Regions from separate parts of the Homo sapiens genome. Here regions 2 and 3 are each linked to region 1. Evidence: promoter capture Hi-C in human tissues and cell types (Jung and others, 2019). All regions are on one chromosome and are shown on one strand. The core of a region is centred on a gene start or on the middle of the fragment in contact, and the rest is flanking DNA. Distances in the headings are between cores, read along the strand shown.

What was found. The method cuts DNA at HindIII sites, captures the fragments that hold promoters and counts their contacts. A contact is called where the count stands out against the background at its distance.
Region 2: a fragment that was not itself captured here is called in contact with the fragment with the promoter of EBI3 in region 1 in 1 of the 25 tissues and cell types used here (dorsolateral prefrontal cortex).
Region 3: a fragment that was not itself captured here is called in contact with the fragment with the promoter of EBI3 in region 1 in 1 of the 25 tissues and cell types used here (dorsolateral prefrontal cortex).

What each region holds. Positions count from the first base shown.
Region 1 is chr19:4,226,939-4,232,026 of GRCh38, reverse strand. EBI3 (Epstein-Barr virus induced 3) reads right to left here and starts at 2,504. Exons shown (of 5, transcript NM_005755.3): 1 at 2,410-2,504; 2 at 704-836. The coding sequence starts at 2,476. RefSeq lists enhancers at 730-1,231, 2,195-2,284. The HindIII fragment of the contact is 27,598 bases long and covers 1-5,088 here.
Region 2 is chr19:4,413,980-4,419,067 of GRCh38, reverse strand. CHAF1A (chromatin assembly factor 1 subunit A) reads right to left here. Exons shown (of 15, transcript NM_005483.3): 4 at 992-1,048. Among named protein-coding and RNA genes, the nearest start is that of CHAF1A, 14 kb to the right of the region's middle. The HindIII fragment of the contact is 3,051 bases long and covers 1,342-4,392 here.
Region 3 is chr19:4,364,900-4,369,987 of GRCh38, reverse strand. SH3GL1 (SH3 domain containing GRB2 like 1, endophilin A2) reads left to right here. Exons shown (of 10, transcript NM_003025.4): 2 at 2,994-3,062; 3 at 3,415-3,487; 4 at 4,363-4,506. Among named protein-coding and RNA genes, the nearest start is that of MPND, 24 kb to the right of the region's middle. RefSeq lists enhancers at 1-46, 499-688, 47-996, 3,145-4,066. The HindIII fragment of the contact is 3,201 bases long and covers 1,422-4,622 here.

The DNA.
Region 1 (5,088 bases), core at 1,255-3,754:
TCTCCATCTCCTGACCTTGTGATCCGCCCACCTCGGCCTCCCAAAGTGCTGGGATTACAGGCGTGAGCCACCGCGCCTGGCCATGCCCAGCTAATTTTAAAAATTGTTTTTAGAGACAGGGTCTCACTATTTTGCCCAAGCTGGACTCAAACTCCTGACCTCAAGTGATCCTCCCACATCAGCCTCCCAAAGTACTGGGATTACAGGCATGTGCCACTGTGCCCAACCCAGGAAGTAGTTTTTTTTTTTTTTTTTTGAGATGGAGTCTTGCTCTGTTGCCCAGGCTGGAGTGCAATGGTGCCATCTTGGCTCACTGCAACCTCCGCCTCCTGGGTTCAAGCTATTCTCCTGCCTCAGCCTCCGGAGTAGCTGGGATTACAGGCATGAGCCACTGCACCTGACCAATTTTTAAAATTTTTCGTAGAGACAGTGTCTCACTACGTTGCCCAAGCTGGTCTCAAACTCCTGACCTCAAGCAATCTGCCCACCTCGGCCTCCCAAAGCGCTGGGATTACAGGCATGCACCACTGTGCCTGGCCCAGAAAGTATATTTCTATTGGACGGGGCCGCCCTAGAATTCCATAGGCCTGGGGTTCAGGATGTCGGGGTCTCCAGTTTTCCTGACCCCAGGGCTCTCAGGGCCAGAGTTCTGGGCTCTCCAGGAAGTCCAGTGTCCCTGAGGCCCCCTTCCAGGCTCTCCGACCTGTACGTGGCAATGAAGGACACGGGGCTGGTGGAGTTTGGAGCAGGCGGCAGGGTCCAGGAGCAATCCACGGCGATCGGGTACCGAGAGGCTCGGCATTGCACCCGGGGCAGTGTCAGAGCTGCTGGGGGCCCTGGAGGAAGACAGAAAGAGTGAGCTTCTGGTTTACCCCCAGATTGTCATAGCCCTCCCGTGCGCTGGGCTCCTGCCACGTTGCCAGCCAGCACCAGGTACATGGTAGGTGCCTAATAAAGGCTTTCGGAATAAATAGGTACATGGACAAAAGTCATCTGTCATCTTTTATCCCCACTGCAATCCATCTAGGTGAGGACTACTAGCCCATTTTCCAGATAGGGAAGCTGAGGTTTAAGCATCTACAGAGAGGAACTCGGGTAAGAGAGAGAGATTTTACCGTGTTCTCTCTTTTGTAATTGTTTTTTTTTTTTAAAGAGGGAGTCTCCCTCTGTCGCCTAGGCTGGAGTGCAGTGGCGAGATCTCGGCTCACTGCCACCCCCGCCTCCCGGGTTCAAGCGATTCTTAGCCTCCCGAGTAGCTGGGATTACAGGCATGTACTGCCACGCTTGGCTAATTTTTGTATTTTTAGTAGAGAGGGAGTTTCACCATGTTGGCCAGGCTGGTCTCAAACTCCTGACCTCAGGTGATCCACCTGCCTTGGCCTCCCAAAGTGCTGGAATTACAGGCGTGAGCCACCAAACCCAGCCTATAAATTATTATTATTATTATTATTTTGAGACAAGGTATCCCACTCTGTCACCTAGGCTGGAATGCAGTGGCACAATCATAGCTCACTGCAGCCTCCAATTCCTGGGCTCAAATTATCCTCCCACCTCAGCCTCCCAAGTAGCTGGGACTACAGGCACGTGCCACCACATCTAGCTAATTTTTTAATTTTTTGTACAGATTGGTGGGGTCCGGTTTCACTATGTTGCCCAGGCTGGTCTCGAATTCCTGGCCTCACGATCCTCACGCCCTGGCCTCCCAAAGTGCTGGAATTACAGGCATGAGCCACCATGCCCTGCTGTAACCATTTTGTCTTCAAGGACATGGAGATGTTCTCTAGTGCAAAATGAATGAATGTCGGCCGGGCGCGGTGGCTCACATCTGTCATCCCAGCACTTTGGGAGCCCGAGGTGGGTGGATCACCTGAGGTCAGGAGTTCAAGACCACCCTGGCCAACATGGTAAAACCCTATCTCTACTAAAAATATAAAAAGTAGCCGGGCATGGTGGCGGGCACCTGTAATCCCAACTACTCGGGAGGCTGAGGGAGGAGAATCTCGCTTGAACCCAGGAGATGGAGGTTTCAGTGAGCTGAGATGGTGCCACTGTACTCCAGCCTGGGCGACAGAGTGAGACTCTGTCTCAAAAAACAAAACCAAAAAGAAACCAAAGGAATGAGTGTGACTCAAATTCGCATGTCTGTGTAGCTATGTCTGTGTAGCTCTATGGATACCTCTGAGCTGTGACTGCCAGTCCCTATCACCCACAAGGTGACATCCTTCCACCCCCAATGTGGCACTCTGCCTCTCTGTGCCTCAGTTCCTCCATCTGTACAATGGGAGGGTAACCCCATCCCACCATTGGGCACGGGAGGATGTGATTTCCCACCCCAGACATGATCCGAGGCCAGTCCTCGTGTCATGTCCGTCTGCCTGGGCCCCCCAGTCCCCCAGGGGCCCCACATACCTTTCCTTCCACTGCAGGGCGGGCAGCTGGCCCAGAGGACAAGGGCCAGGAGAAGCTGCGGGGTCATGGCTGCGGCCAGCTCTGCTCTCAGGAGTGGGTGGGAACGTCGTGGGAGACTTGAGAGGGGAGGTGAGGACTTGGGACCTGCCCAGGGGAAAGCCCAGCCCAGGGTCAAGGCCCGCCCCCTCCCCGACTTCCTTCAGGTCTGACTCACTGGTGGGGCTCGTGGGGCCGCTAGGGAGATGAATTAGGGTGTGGAGGAGCCCCAGCCCCCTGGGGAGCACAGGCCACCCCTGCTCGGAAGGCCCCGAGGGTGGGGGCGGGGGAGGAGGCTGTGAAAGGGAGAAGTGGAGACCTGCTGGCTTTTCCCAGCACAGCATGTCCTGCTGGCCTTCCTTCCGCTGCCCTGAAGCGGGGGAAACCCCAGGCAGGCAGGCAGGGGCTCAGGGACATGGAGGGAGACAGAGGCAGAGATGGGGGAGAGAGGCAGAGAGACAGAGAAGACAGAAGGAAGACACAGAGAGACAGGGAGATGACAGAGACAGAGACACAGAGAGAGACACAGATGAGAGAGGCAGAGAGACAGAGACAAGAAGAGGAGGACACAGAGATAGAGGGATACAGAGACAGGGAGATGACAGAGACAGAGACAGAGAGACACAGATGAAAGAGGCAGAGAGACAGAGACGAGAGGAGGAGGACACAGAGATAGACAGGGAGATGACAGAGAGACACAGAGACACAGATGAAAGAGGCAGAGAGAAAGAGACGAGAGGAGGAGGACACAGAGAGAGAGAGACAGAGACAGGGAGATGACAGAGACAGAGACAGAGAGAGACACAGATGAGAGAGGCAGAGAGAAAGACAAGAGGAAGAGGACAAAGAGATAGAGAGACAGGGAGACGACAGAGACAGAGAGAGATACAGATGAGAGAGACAGAGATGAGAGGAGGAGGACACAGAGATAGATAGAGACAGGGAGATGACAGACAGAGAAAGGGGCATGACAGAGACAGAAACACAGAGAGAGACACAGAGATGAGAAAGGCAGAGATGAGAGGAGGAGGACACGGAGATAGACAGGGAGATGACAGAGACAGAGACAGAGACAAAGATGAGAGAGTCAGAGAGACAGATGAGAGGAGGACACAGAGATAGAGGGATAGAGAGACAGGGAGATGACAGAGACAGAGAGAGCTACAGATGAGAGAGGCAGAGAGACAGATGAGAGGAGGACACAGAGATAGAGGGATAGAGAGACAGGGAGATGACAGAGAAAGTGACAGAGATACAGATGAGAGAGGCAGAGAGACAAATGAGAGGAGGACACAGAGATAGAGAGAGACAGAGACAGGGAGATGACAGAGACAGAGAGAGATACAGATGAGAGAGGCAGAGAGACAGAGACGAGAGGAGGAGGACACAGAGATAGAGAGACAGGGAGATGACAGAGACAGAGAAAGGGGGATGACAGAGACAGAAACACAGAGAGAGACAGAGATGAGAGGAGGAGGACACAGAGATAGATAGGGAGATGATAGAGACAGAGAGAGACAGGGGAATGAGAGAGACAGAGACAGAGATGAGAGGAGGAGGACACAGAGACAGAGAGAGACAGGGAGATGATGGAAACAGAAAGAGAAACACAGAGAGCAGACAGACAGAGGAAGAGAGACAGAGGGACAGAGATAAGAGAGGAAGACAGAGATAGGGAAATGAGAGAGACACAGAGACAGAGATAAGGGAGGAAGACAGAGAAAGAGAGACACAGATGGGAAGATGAGAGACAGAGACAGAGAGACAGAGATGAGAGAGTAGGATAGACAGAGATAGAGAGATGGTGGGGCACGGTGGCTCACGGCTGTAATCCCAGCACCTTGGGAGGCCAAGGCAGATGGATCACCTGAGGTTGGGAGTTCGAGACCAGCCTGACCAAAATGGTGAAACCCTGTCTCTACTAAAAATACAAAAATTAGCTGGGCGTGGTGGCAGGCACCTGTAATCCCAGCTACTCTGGAGGCTGAGGAAGGAGAATCACTTAAACCTGGGAGGCAGAGGTTGCAGTGAACCAAGATTACACCACTGCACTCCAGCCTGGGTGACAGAGTGAGACTCCATCTCAAAAAGAACAACAACAACAACAAAAAGACTGATGGGGCAATGACAGAGATGGAGAAAGAGAGACAAAAGAGAGACAGAAAGAAGACAGGAAGACAGAAATAGAGATACGGGGAGATGACAGACACAGAAAGAGAGACAGAGAGATAAGAGAAGACGACAGAGGGCCGGGTGTGGTGGCTCACGCCTCTAATCCCAGCACTTTGGGAGGCTGAGGCGGGCGGGTCACAAGGTCAGAAGTTCGAGACCAGCCTGGCCAATATGGTGAAACCCCGTCTCTACTAAAAATACAAGAATTAGCTGGGCGTTGTGGTGCGCACCTGTAATCCCAGCTACTTGGGACGCTGAGGTGGGAGAATCGCTTAAACCTGGGAGGCGGAGGTTGCAGTGAGAGGAGGTTGCAGTGAGCCGAGGTCACGCCACTGCACTCCAGCCTGGGAGATAGAGTGAGACTCTGTGTCAAAAAAAAAAAAAAAAAAAAAGGCTGAGCGTGGGGGCTCACACCTGTAATCCCAGCACTCTGGGAGGCCGAGGCGGGCGGATCACAAGGTCAGGAGATCA
Region 2 (5,088 bases), core at 1,618-4,117, 190 kb before region 1:
CTCTACTAAAATACAAAAAAAAAAAAAAAAAAAAAAAATTAGCTGGCTATGGCAGCAAGTGCCTGTAGTCCCAGCTACTCGGGAGGCTGAGGCAGAAGAACCGCTTGAACCCGGGAGGCAGAGGTTGCAGTGAGCCGAGATCGTGCCACTGCACTCCAGTCTGGTGACAGAGCAAGACTCCGTCTCAAAGACAAAACAAAACAAAAGCCCCCTGCATTGCTGTGTGGAAAACGTGGTGATGCCCCCCACAGAATAGGAGACTAAGCAGAGAGTCACTAAAGGATAACCACCCATCGAGTGTAGAGGCTATTCAGATGTTATAGCACTTAGCAATAAGTGAAAGACACAGGACTGGCCAGGCGCGGCGGCTCACACCTGTAATCCCAGCACTCTGGGAGGCCGAGGCGGGCGGATCACGAGGTCAGGAGATCGAGACCATCCTGGCTAACATGGTGAAACCCCGTCTCTACTAAAAATACAAAAAATTAGCCAGGCGTGGTGGTGGATGCCTGTAGTCCCAACTACTGGGGAGGCTGAGCCAGGAGAATGGCGTGAACCTGGGAGGTGGAGCTTGCAGTGAGCCGAGATCGCACCACTGCACCCCAGCCTGGGTGGCAGAGCGAGACTCTGTCTCAAAAAAAAAAAAAAAAAAAAAAAAGAGACAGGACTACAAGGAAATGGACTGGGTTTTTGGAAGGTAATTTGAAGCTACAATGGGATACTGAACCATTAAGACAGTGGTAGCACTATTGATAAAAGCTTAGAAAAGGCCACACACAAAACCTTAGGACTCACTCAGCAAGCCAAAAAATGACACAATCCACAAACCATGAAGTCCAAGTACTTAAAATGAAGCAGGAATCAAAATGATGGTCAGAGAAGGCTGGGGAAAATGTAAAAACTAGACCAAAGGAACTTCAAAGGGCTTTGCTTACTATTTAATGCAAAAAGCACAGCAGGTTAATTTTCTATTTCAGGGAAAATGTCTTACTCTTTGCAGTCTGAGCTTGTTCTTCTCTGTAGAGCCTTTGACGAATTTCTTAGTTATCTGAAAACAGAAGACGTTTATCTTTAAACACGGGTTATTTCAATTGCTTCGAGAAAAAGAGAAACCTTTCCAGGTGATCAGTTTTTCCACCAACAGAACCAAAATGTCATAATAGGGTCACAAACTCCAGTAAGTGTGCATACATGTGTGTATCTGGGATTAGATAACAAGAGAGACTACGGAGGCAGATAAAGAAATGAGTGAAGGACACCAAGCACAAGAAAAACAAGGCAAGCTCAGAAATAAAGGCAACAGACAAGGCTGGGCGCGGTGGCTAACGCCTGTAATTCCAGCACTTTGGGAGGCCGAGGCAGACAGATCACCTGAGGTCAGGAGTTCGAGACCAGCCTGGCCAACGTGGCAAAACCCCATCTCTACTAAAAATACAAAAATTAGCCGAGCGTGGTGGCAGGTGCCTGTAATCCCACCTACTCAGGAGGCTGAGGCAGAAGAATCGCTTGAACCCAGGAGAAGGAGGTTGCAGTGAGCCGAGATTGCGCCACCATACTCCTGCCTGGGCAACAGGGTGAGACTCTGTCTTAAAAAAAAAAAAAAAAAAAAAGCGACAGCTGGCCTGGGCGACAGGGAGAGGATGGATTTGTAGCAAAGGAGAGAGGACCTGCCTGTCCAAAGGAGATGGAGTTCTTACAGGAATATAGATCCCTATTTGCTGGTCCTTCCAATTTCTCCAAGAGAAGCTGATATTAGGAATTTCATATGAATTTTTTTAGGTGTTTAAAAATGGACACAGACGGGCACAGTGGCTCATGCCTGTAATCCCAGCACTTTGGGAGGTCAAGGCGGGAGGATCACTTGAGCCCAGGAGTTCAAGACCAGCCTGGGCAATAAAGCAAGACCCTGTCTCTAAAAAAAGCTTTTAGTTAGTCGGGTGTTGTGGTGCACATCTGTAGTCCTAGCTACCCAGGAGTCTGGGGTGGGAGGAGCCCGGGAGGTTGAGGCTGCACTGAGCTGTCCAACCTGGGTGACAGAGTGAGACTGTCTAAAAAAAAAATAAAAAGATACTAAATTAATCAAATAAAACATGTCTCCAGGCTGGTTTCCTGTGCACCACTAATTTACATTCTGTCTAGCTCAACTCTGCTTTTTATTTTAATGTTATTTTTGAGATGGAGTCTTACTCCTGTCACAGAGGCTGGAGTGCAGCGAGTGCCACGATCTCGGCTCACTGCAACCTCTACCTCCCAAGTTCAAGCGATTCTCCTGCCTCAGCTTCTTGAGTAGCTGGGATTATAGGCGTGTGCCACCACACCTGGCTAATTTTTGTATTTTTAGTGGAGATAGGGGTTTCATCATGTTGGCCAGGCTGGTCTCGAACTCCTGACCTCAGGTGATCCACCCGCCTCGCCTCCCAAAGTGCTAGGAATTCAGGCGTGAGCCACCGCGCCCAGCCAACTCTGCTTTTTAGAATGTGGAGTGAAAGCTTAAGACAAAAGGGAAACTTGCTGGGGTTTTCTAGGACTTCTACCTTCTAGGGCACAATATTTTCTATCACCTACCTTCAAACTGAGCATGAGCTACTAGGAATTACCAATAGGATCCATGGTGTGACTCACCATCCACCTAAATGGTCCCAGGAAGGAAGACGAACAGGGAGTCTGGACTTTGGCCTAAGCTATCTCCCACCGGGGCAGGGAATCCTGAAAACCAAACTAGTAGAAGTGAAGAGCAATGGGAAGAGACGCTTAAGAGTGGGAAGAAATAGTTCTCCGGGTTCATTGCAGACTTGCAGTGTAAGACTGAAGTTGACTGAAAAACCAAAGGCCCATTTTCCTGGCAATGGTCTGAGGGGTCAACAAAATTATGTAAGTGATTTCTTTTTTTTTTTGAGACGGAGTCTCGCTCTGTCGCCCAGGCTGGAGTGCAGTGGCGCCATCTCGGATCACTGCAAGCTCCGCCTCCCGGGTTCAAGCGATTCTCCTGCCTCAGTCTGCCCAGTAGCTGGGACTATAGGTGCCCACCACCATGCCTGGGTAATTTTTTTGTATTTTTAGTAGAGATGGGGTTTCACCATGTTAGCCAGGATGGTCTCGATCTCCTGACCTCGTGATCCGCCCGCCTCGGCCTCCCAAAGTGCTGGGATTAAAGGCGTGAGCCACCGCGCCCGGCCAACAGTGATTTCTTTATCTGGGAAAGCTGAACCCCTGACTAGGACCTCTCACAGAATAAAAGCTTCAGATGAATGAGCTCAAGACAGCCTTTCCACCTGGGTCCCACTGAGTCCTTTCTGGACTAAACCTTTCTTTAGGGAAAGGCCGAGCCGTTGTGAGAAGGCTGCCCGTGTTGGCAGGAGCTCTTTCACCACCGAGATCAGGCCAGGGTGTTCAGTCTTTGCTGAGAATGTGGCAACAGAAATGCCAGCCCGAGGCAGCCTCACCAAATGCTGCAGAAAAAGCATCTGTCTCTCCAGCATCTACTCTGCCTGCCAAGGCTGTGTGCCTCTCCCCCACGCTGAGGGATTTAACTGCAGAATATGGGAGCCGCAGCTCTCCGGGGCTGCCCTTTGTGTTCAGAGATTATAATACGGAATGTGGTCTTGGGGTGGCGGGGAATTCAGTTCCTTAGTCTTGCCCATGCCTGAAGCTCAGCTGCAGAATCTCCTGCCTCTTACAATGCCCCCCCTCTGCTGTGAGTCCAGAGATAACAGACTTGATGTGACTGGCAAGAGCCCGCTCAGTAATATCCAACAACCAAAACAGAGCAATTACTGCTTAATTTAAAACTGGTATCTTTTTTGCTTTGCCAAACCCTCAGATGGACCTTGAAGTCTGACAGAACTTTATCTTCTTGAAATTTGACCCAAGTGTTTATAGATCTCACTCTCAAAATTCTATGCAACACTCCCACATTCTACCCAGCTGGAGCCCGGTCAGACAGCACCCTCAACTGCCAAAAACGTGATCCAGGATCCCAGAAGGAAGCCAAAACACAAAAACCGACAATCCCAAGGAGTCGCGACAGAGCTCACTATGTGTGGGCATGAAAATTCCTGCACCCTTTCTCAGATAATCCTCTCAGAGCCTATGGACTCTGATTTTATACTAAAGGGTATCTAATTTCTAAGCCCAGACCAGATAAGCCGCTAAAACCTGACAGCAGGGGAGCGGAGGCAGGGGGGAAAAGAGAAAACCTCCAATTGGCCCAAGCATGAGAGAGTGCAAGCTGGGAAAATAAGAACGCACGCATTGCCTTGAGCTACCAAGACCTCATTCTCCTTAACAGCCCAAGGCCACTTGTAGAAGGAAGCTCAAGGGAACAATCATTTTGTGAAAGCCAAGCACAGAAACAGCAGAACTGAGAAAACAGCTCTGTAACCTACAGCATGTCCACACCATGGGATATCACGCAGCTGTTAAAAAGAGCTCCATCTTTCCATCCCAATATAAAAAACATCTAAGACACCCTTGAGTAACAAAGACAGATATTTACAGTATATGTCATACACAAGGAAACAAAATGATACTGGGTGTTTCCTAGAGATCTCTCTGGATATACAGGACACAGAAAAACACAAGGTGATGATGATGATAATAATGGCAACCTCCTGGGAGAACAGAGGGCTTCAAGGTTTCCATTCTTTTTCCTTTTTGTTTTTTTTTTTTTTTGAGACGGTCTGGCTGTTGCCCAGGCTGGAGCACAGTGGTGCAATCATGACTCACCGCAACCTCTGCCTCCTTGGCTCAAGTGATCCTTCCACCTCAGCCTCCCAAGGAGCTGGGACTACAGGTGTGCACCCCCATGCCCCGCTATTTTTTGTATTTTTTGTACAGACGGAGTTTCACCATGTTGGTCAAGCTGGTTTCGAACTCCTAAGCTCAAGCAATCCTCCCACCTCGGCTTCCCAAAGTGCTGGGGTTACAGGCTTGAGCCACTGCACCTAGACCAGTATTTCTTTTAAACATGGAGAATTTATTACAAATGTAATTTCAAGTATATGGAAAGAAGTTCCAGCAATCTGGGCACAGAAGCAAGCCAAAGATTCCAGTAACACAACTGCACCAACATGATCATTTGTCAAATAA
Region 3 (5,088 bases), core at 1,773-4,272, 140 kb before region 1:
TGGTTTCCGCGCTTGCGGCCGGCGCTGCACGTGGCCCGGCTGCCTTGCTTTTCCCGTGTTTCCCTTGTGGCTGCTCATCCCTGTGTCCATCTGTGCTGGTTTCTAGCCCATAAGCCTTGGAGAGAAGGGGCCTTACAGGGTTGTGTCCCCTGCCCAGTGCCTGGCCCGTGGGGGACCATCAGTCACCACAAGGGACTTGGCTGGAGCTGAGCAGAGGGACCCGGGTAGTTAGGGCACAGCCTCCCGGGTGTCAGGGGTGCGAGGAGTCAGGCGGTTGTGGGGGTTCAGGAAGTCGTCCTGGGGCTCAGGAAGGCAGGGTCCTGGATTCCCAGGTGAGATGGGCAGGTGGGGCCAGGGCCAGAGCCAGAGGCCACCAGGTGGGTCTTTGGTACCGTGGCGGGTCCCCAGCCCCTCCCCTCAGAGGCAGGATGTGGTCCTCGCCGGTAGGGCCTCTCCTCCTGCCCTGTGAGAGGCAGGGGGCTGGGGAAGGGCCCTGACGGAGCCACTCCTGCCAGCCTGCACACTGGGTCCTGCCTGGGCAGGTCGTGGGGCCGGGGTGGCCTCCGCCCAGAAGGTGTGGTTTCGCAGCCCGCTGGCTTCAGTTCTCCTCCCGGCTTCCCAGAAGAGTCCAGTCTCACATCAGCCACTCATTTCCCTCTCCGGCAGCCGCTGGCTCTGAGCACGCCCTCTCTCGCCACAATCAAAAGAAGTGAAACTGTCCCAGGAAATAGAGTGGAACGCCCCAAAAACACCTAGGGAGGGGGGGCTCCTTCCTCCTAATGCCTTCAGCAGAAATGGAGGGCAGCCCCACTCTCCTGCCCCGCAAGGGACAGTTCCTGCTTCTCACCTGTGCCAGAGTCAGCCCTCCCGCGGTGGGTGTGACGAGGTGATTTTTTTTTTCTTTCTTCTTTCTTTTGAGATGGAGTCTTGCTCTGTCGCCTAGGCTGGAGTGCAGTGGCTGGATCTCTGCTGACTGCAAGCTCCACCTCCCGGGTTCACACCATTCTCCTACCTCAGCCTCCCGAGTAGCTGGGACTACAGGCACCCGCCATCAGGCCCGGCTAATTTTTTTGTATTTTTAGTAGAGACGGGGTTTCACTGTGTTAGCCAGGATGGTCTCGATCTCCTGACCTCATGATCCGCCTGCCTCAGCCTCCCAAAGTGCTGGGATTACAGGCATGAGTCACCGCGCCCGGCCAACGAGGGGATTTTTAAGAAGCTTCCAAGGTGCTGTGTGGCTGAGTTGAGAGCCACCAACCCACAGGCAGGAAAGGGACAGGGGTCAGAGGCATGGGGCCTGTGCTCACTGAATGCCCGGCACACCCCGCACATGAAGGCAGGTGGACAGAAAGGGTCCCGATGCGTGGGTGAGGACAGTCCCGTGGTGTGGGGGCTTCCAGAGCCAAGCCTTGGAGGAGGGCCAGGAATTCCTTGGCAAAGGGGCTGGTGTCTTTTTGGGCAGGTTGCCAGGACACAAGACCAGCCGTGTACTCCGGGCAGGCTACCTTTTGCAGAACTTGGGGTTGGGGGCATTTGCACTCATGGTGCCTTGGGCTGTGACCTCCAGGCATGGGCTAGAGGGTACACCAGGTGCCTGGCGTGGGCAGAGCCCCAGGCTCAAGCTTCTCCTGCCCCCGCACTTCCTGCTCTTGGGTCACTTCCTCCCAGGCTGGGTCCTAAACTCCTGACTGCCCTGCTGGACACCCCCCAGCCCCACACAGCCAACGCAGTGTGGCACCACACGGACCCTCATGGCATCCCTTGGCCACGTCTTGTGACAGCTCGGGGCAGGCAAGCACCAATCAGACCTGGGGAGCACCAGGGGCACAGGCCATGGCCCACGGCACGCAACACCTCACTCTCCTGCCCAGGCCGTGTGTGCACGTCTTCACACAAGTGATCAGACCCGGGATGTTAAATTTGCCGATGACTTCAGAGATGGCACACCCTGTGACACTTGGCCCCCAGAGGGCAGGGCCAAGCTTGTGACCTCAGGCGGCCTCCCTCTGGGAGCCTCCATTTGTGGCAGGGCCTGGCAGCCACTCGGCTCTTCATGAAGCGCTGTGTGCTGGGAAGGGCCTCACACTGTCCATCCTCACTCTGTGCGGCATCCCTTGGCGCCAGGCACACATGGGATACGTGGGGTGAAGAAAGCAACGCCTGTGCTCAGACAGCGGTGCTGGGGTTCAGTGGTTCCCGCCATGTTCCATGGGACATTTCAGGGCTGTTTTTCGCATCCCAGGCGCTGTCAGAGGGAGTGGTTTGGGAATTCAGTGCTTGCTTCTGCCTTCCCACCACACGAGGAAAGACGCTGTAAGTGCCTGTCATTGTCATCGCTTTCACCGTAGCTGAGAGCCGTGAGGACCAAGGTGTGCCAGGCCTGTGTTGACTGCCTTGTGAAACTCAGTGTCCACATGGGGCAAGGGCTGGGCTGTCCCATCCTGCAGACACGGGCACCAGAGCACAGGAGAATGGCGGCCTCCCTGCCCGGCTGCCTGCACCTCTTCTCGTAACTGTCAGCTCCTGCTGCCTCTCCCAGCCAAGCTGGCAGGATTTTTTTTTTTAAGTAGACCCCACATACTCAAGGATGGGGGCAGATCCCCACATTGCTATCTGTGGGGATGTTTGTGTAGGCGCTTCTGGAAGCAGTGTCTTCTGAGCCATGTGTTCTCAGGCTGAGGCTCTGGACTCCACCGTGGCCCAGATGGGGCCTACTGTGGCAGGGTCCCCAGTGGGTATGTGAGTGGCAGTCGGGACACACACAGGTGGGCAGGCCACCCCCACCCTCCCCCTCCCCCTGCAGGCCCACCCTGCTCTGCAGGCAGCGTGTGGCCCTGGGGTGCCCACGGCAGTGCCTGAGGTGTGTGTCCTGATCACTTGGCCTCCTGCCTCCAGCTGTGGATGCGATGTGGCTGGAAGGCGGCTCAGGGCCTCCTGTCCTCTTCTTCCTCCTACCCCTGGGCTCACAGCGTTTCCCCTCTTCTGTCCTCTAGCTGGTCAGTGAGAAGGTCGGAGGGGCCGAGGGGACCAAGCTGGATGATGACTTCAAAGAGATGGAGAAGGTGAGGAAGAAACTGCGTGCTCTGTGTGGTGGTGGCACTGCTGGGGCCTGACCTCTGCCGGGCATAGTGGAGGCGGCCAACCTTGATGGGCCTGGGTCTGGAGTGATGGGGCCCGGCAGGTGTGGAGAGATGGGGTGGTGTGGGGGCCTCGTCAGCTGGACTTGACGGGCACCAGCTCTCTCCCCTGCCGTGGGCAGGCAGCTGTGGGGACATGGCTGAGCTGAAGACATGGAGAGGGGGTTGGGGGGTCCTGGTATGGGCTCTTAGGGCAGGAGGCGGTGCAGCAGCGGGGGTCTTGTGTGCCTTGGGCCCCCACTGGCTGTGGAGTCTTATATGCTGCTTCTCTTCACAGAAGGTGGATGTCACCAGCAAGGCGGTGACAGAAGTGCTGGCCAGGACCATCGAGTACCTGCAGCCCAACCCAGGTGGGTGCTCCAGCCACTGCCAGGGCCTGCCCCAGGCCCTCTGGCCTCTGTGTCAGAGGGAAGGCAGGGGATGACAGAACCGCCAGGCTCATGGGTTGTGGGCTTCAGGCACAGCTGGATCCCGGAGTGCAGAGGCCATCCTTGGTGCTGCATGCTGCCTTTCCACCTCAACCAGCAGCTCAGCCCCTCTGTTGGCTTCACTCTCATGCCGACTGGTTCCTCAGGGCCGTCCCAGCCTTCAACCCCTCTTCCAGCCAGCAGTCCTGGCAGGGAGCCTCTCCCCCAGCTTACTTGTGGGATCCATTTGTATTGGCCGCCCCTCCCCAGTGCCCCTGGCCTGGACTTCACCTCTTGGGCTTGGGACTGGGTCTCCCTGGCTGAGAGACGGGCTTTTCCCCAAGGAAAACCCAAATGCTGGCTCCATAGGAGGCCACGGACAGGGGGCAGACGCACACCCAGCAGTGTCCACTCAGGCCCTGCCAGGAGCAGACCCAAGCGGGCAGCGGAAGGGACACAGCTCATCACCCACCCCGGGAGCCTTGGCCTCAACCACCCCCCGCTGCACATCACTGCTGCGCCTCCTCCCTGGCACCCCCCAGATGAGGGGTCATAGCCACGTTCCAAGAGGAGCAGCCCTTGGAAGGAGGAGGTTTTGCCCCCTGAGGAGCTTGGTCACCTCTCCACCCGCTGCCAGCTCCTTTGAGGCTAGCAGGAGCAGGGAAGGGACCCTCTGGGGATTCCACTGTGCTTTGTGTGGCCTAGGCTGTCCACAGGCACAGGAAGCAAGGGTGGGGAGGAGATGTGGGGGCTGCAGTCTGCCAGGGCAGAGGAGTGCAGGCCTCACAGCCCACACCCACCTGGCCATCCTATCCCAGCCTCGCGGGCTAAGCTGACCATGCTCAACACGGTGTCCAAGATCCGGGGCCAGGTGAAGAACCCCGGCTACCCGCAGTCGGAGGGGCTTCTGGGCGAGTGCATGATCCGCCACGGGAAGGAGCTGGGCGGCGAGTCCAACTTTGGTGAGTGGTGCTCTCTGGAAGCCACGCCCACCGTCCCTGGAGGCCACACCTCAACACAGGCAGGGCAGGTCCAGGCCCTGCATGTGCTGAGTGCCGGGGACGTACAGTGGCCCCCACAGCTTTCCAGCTGCAGAGGTGCAGGAGACTGCACAGACCAACCCATCCAGCACTGGCCAGCAGCTGATAGGGCCCCTTCCTGTAGCTCCAGACCTTCCCCAACTCAAGCCAGCTGCTTCCCCAGGGCCTGGACCCCCCAGCATCTGTCCTTCCACCTGTTAAGGGCAAACCTAGGCCCTTTTAGGAGCATTGGAGGGTCTGGTTTAACGTCCAGCATCGATTCGGATTTTAGGATCCTTTGTTTTGCCCTGAGTTCCAATTTCCGGGCCCTGGGCTTAGAGTGTTGGGGGGCTGTTAGAAGTTGGGATGGGGCCAAGTGTGGTGGCTCATGCCTGTAATCCCAACACTTTGGGAGGCCAAGGCAGGTGGATCACCTGAGATCGGGAATTCGAGACCAGCAAGACCAATATGGAGAAACCCCACCCCGCTTCTACTAAAAAAAAAAAAATATATATATATATATAT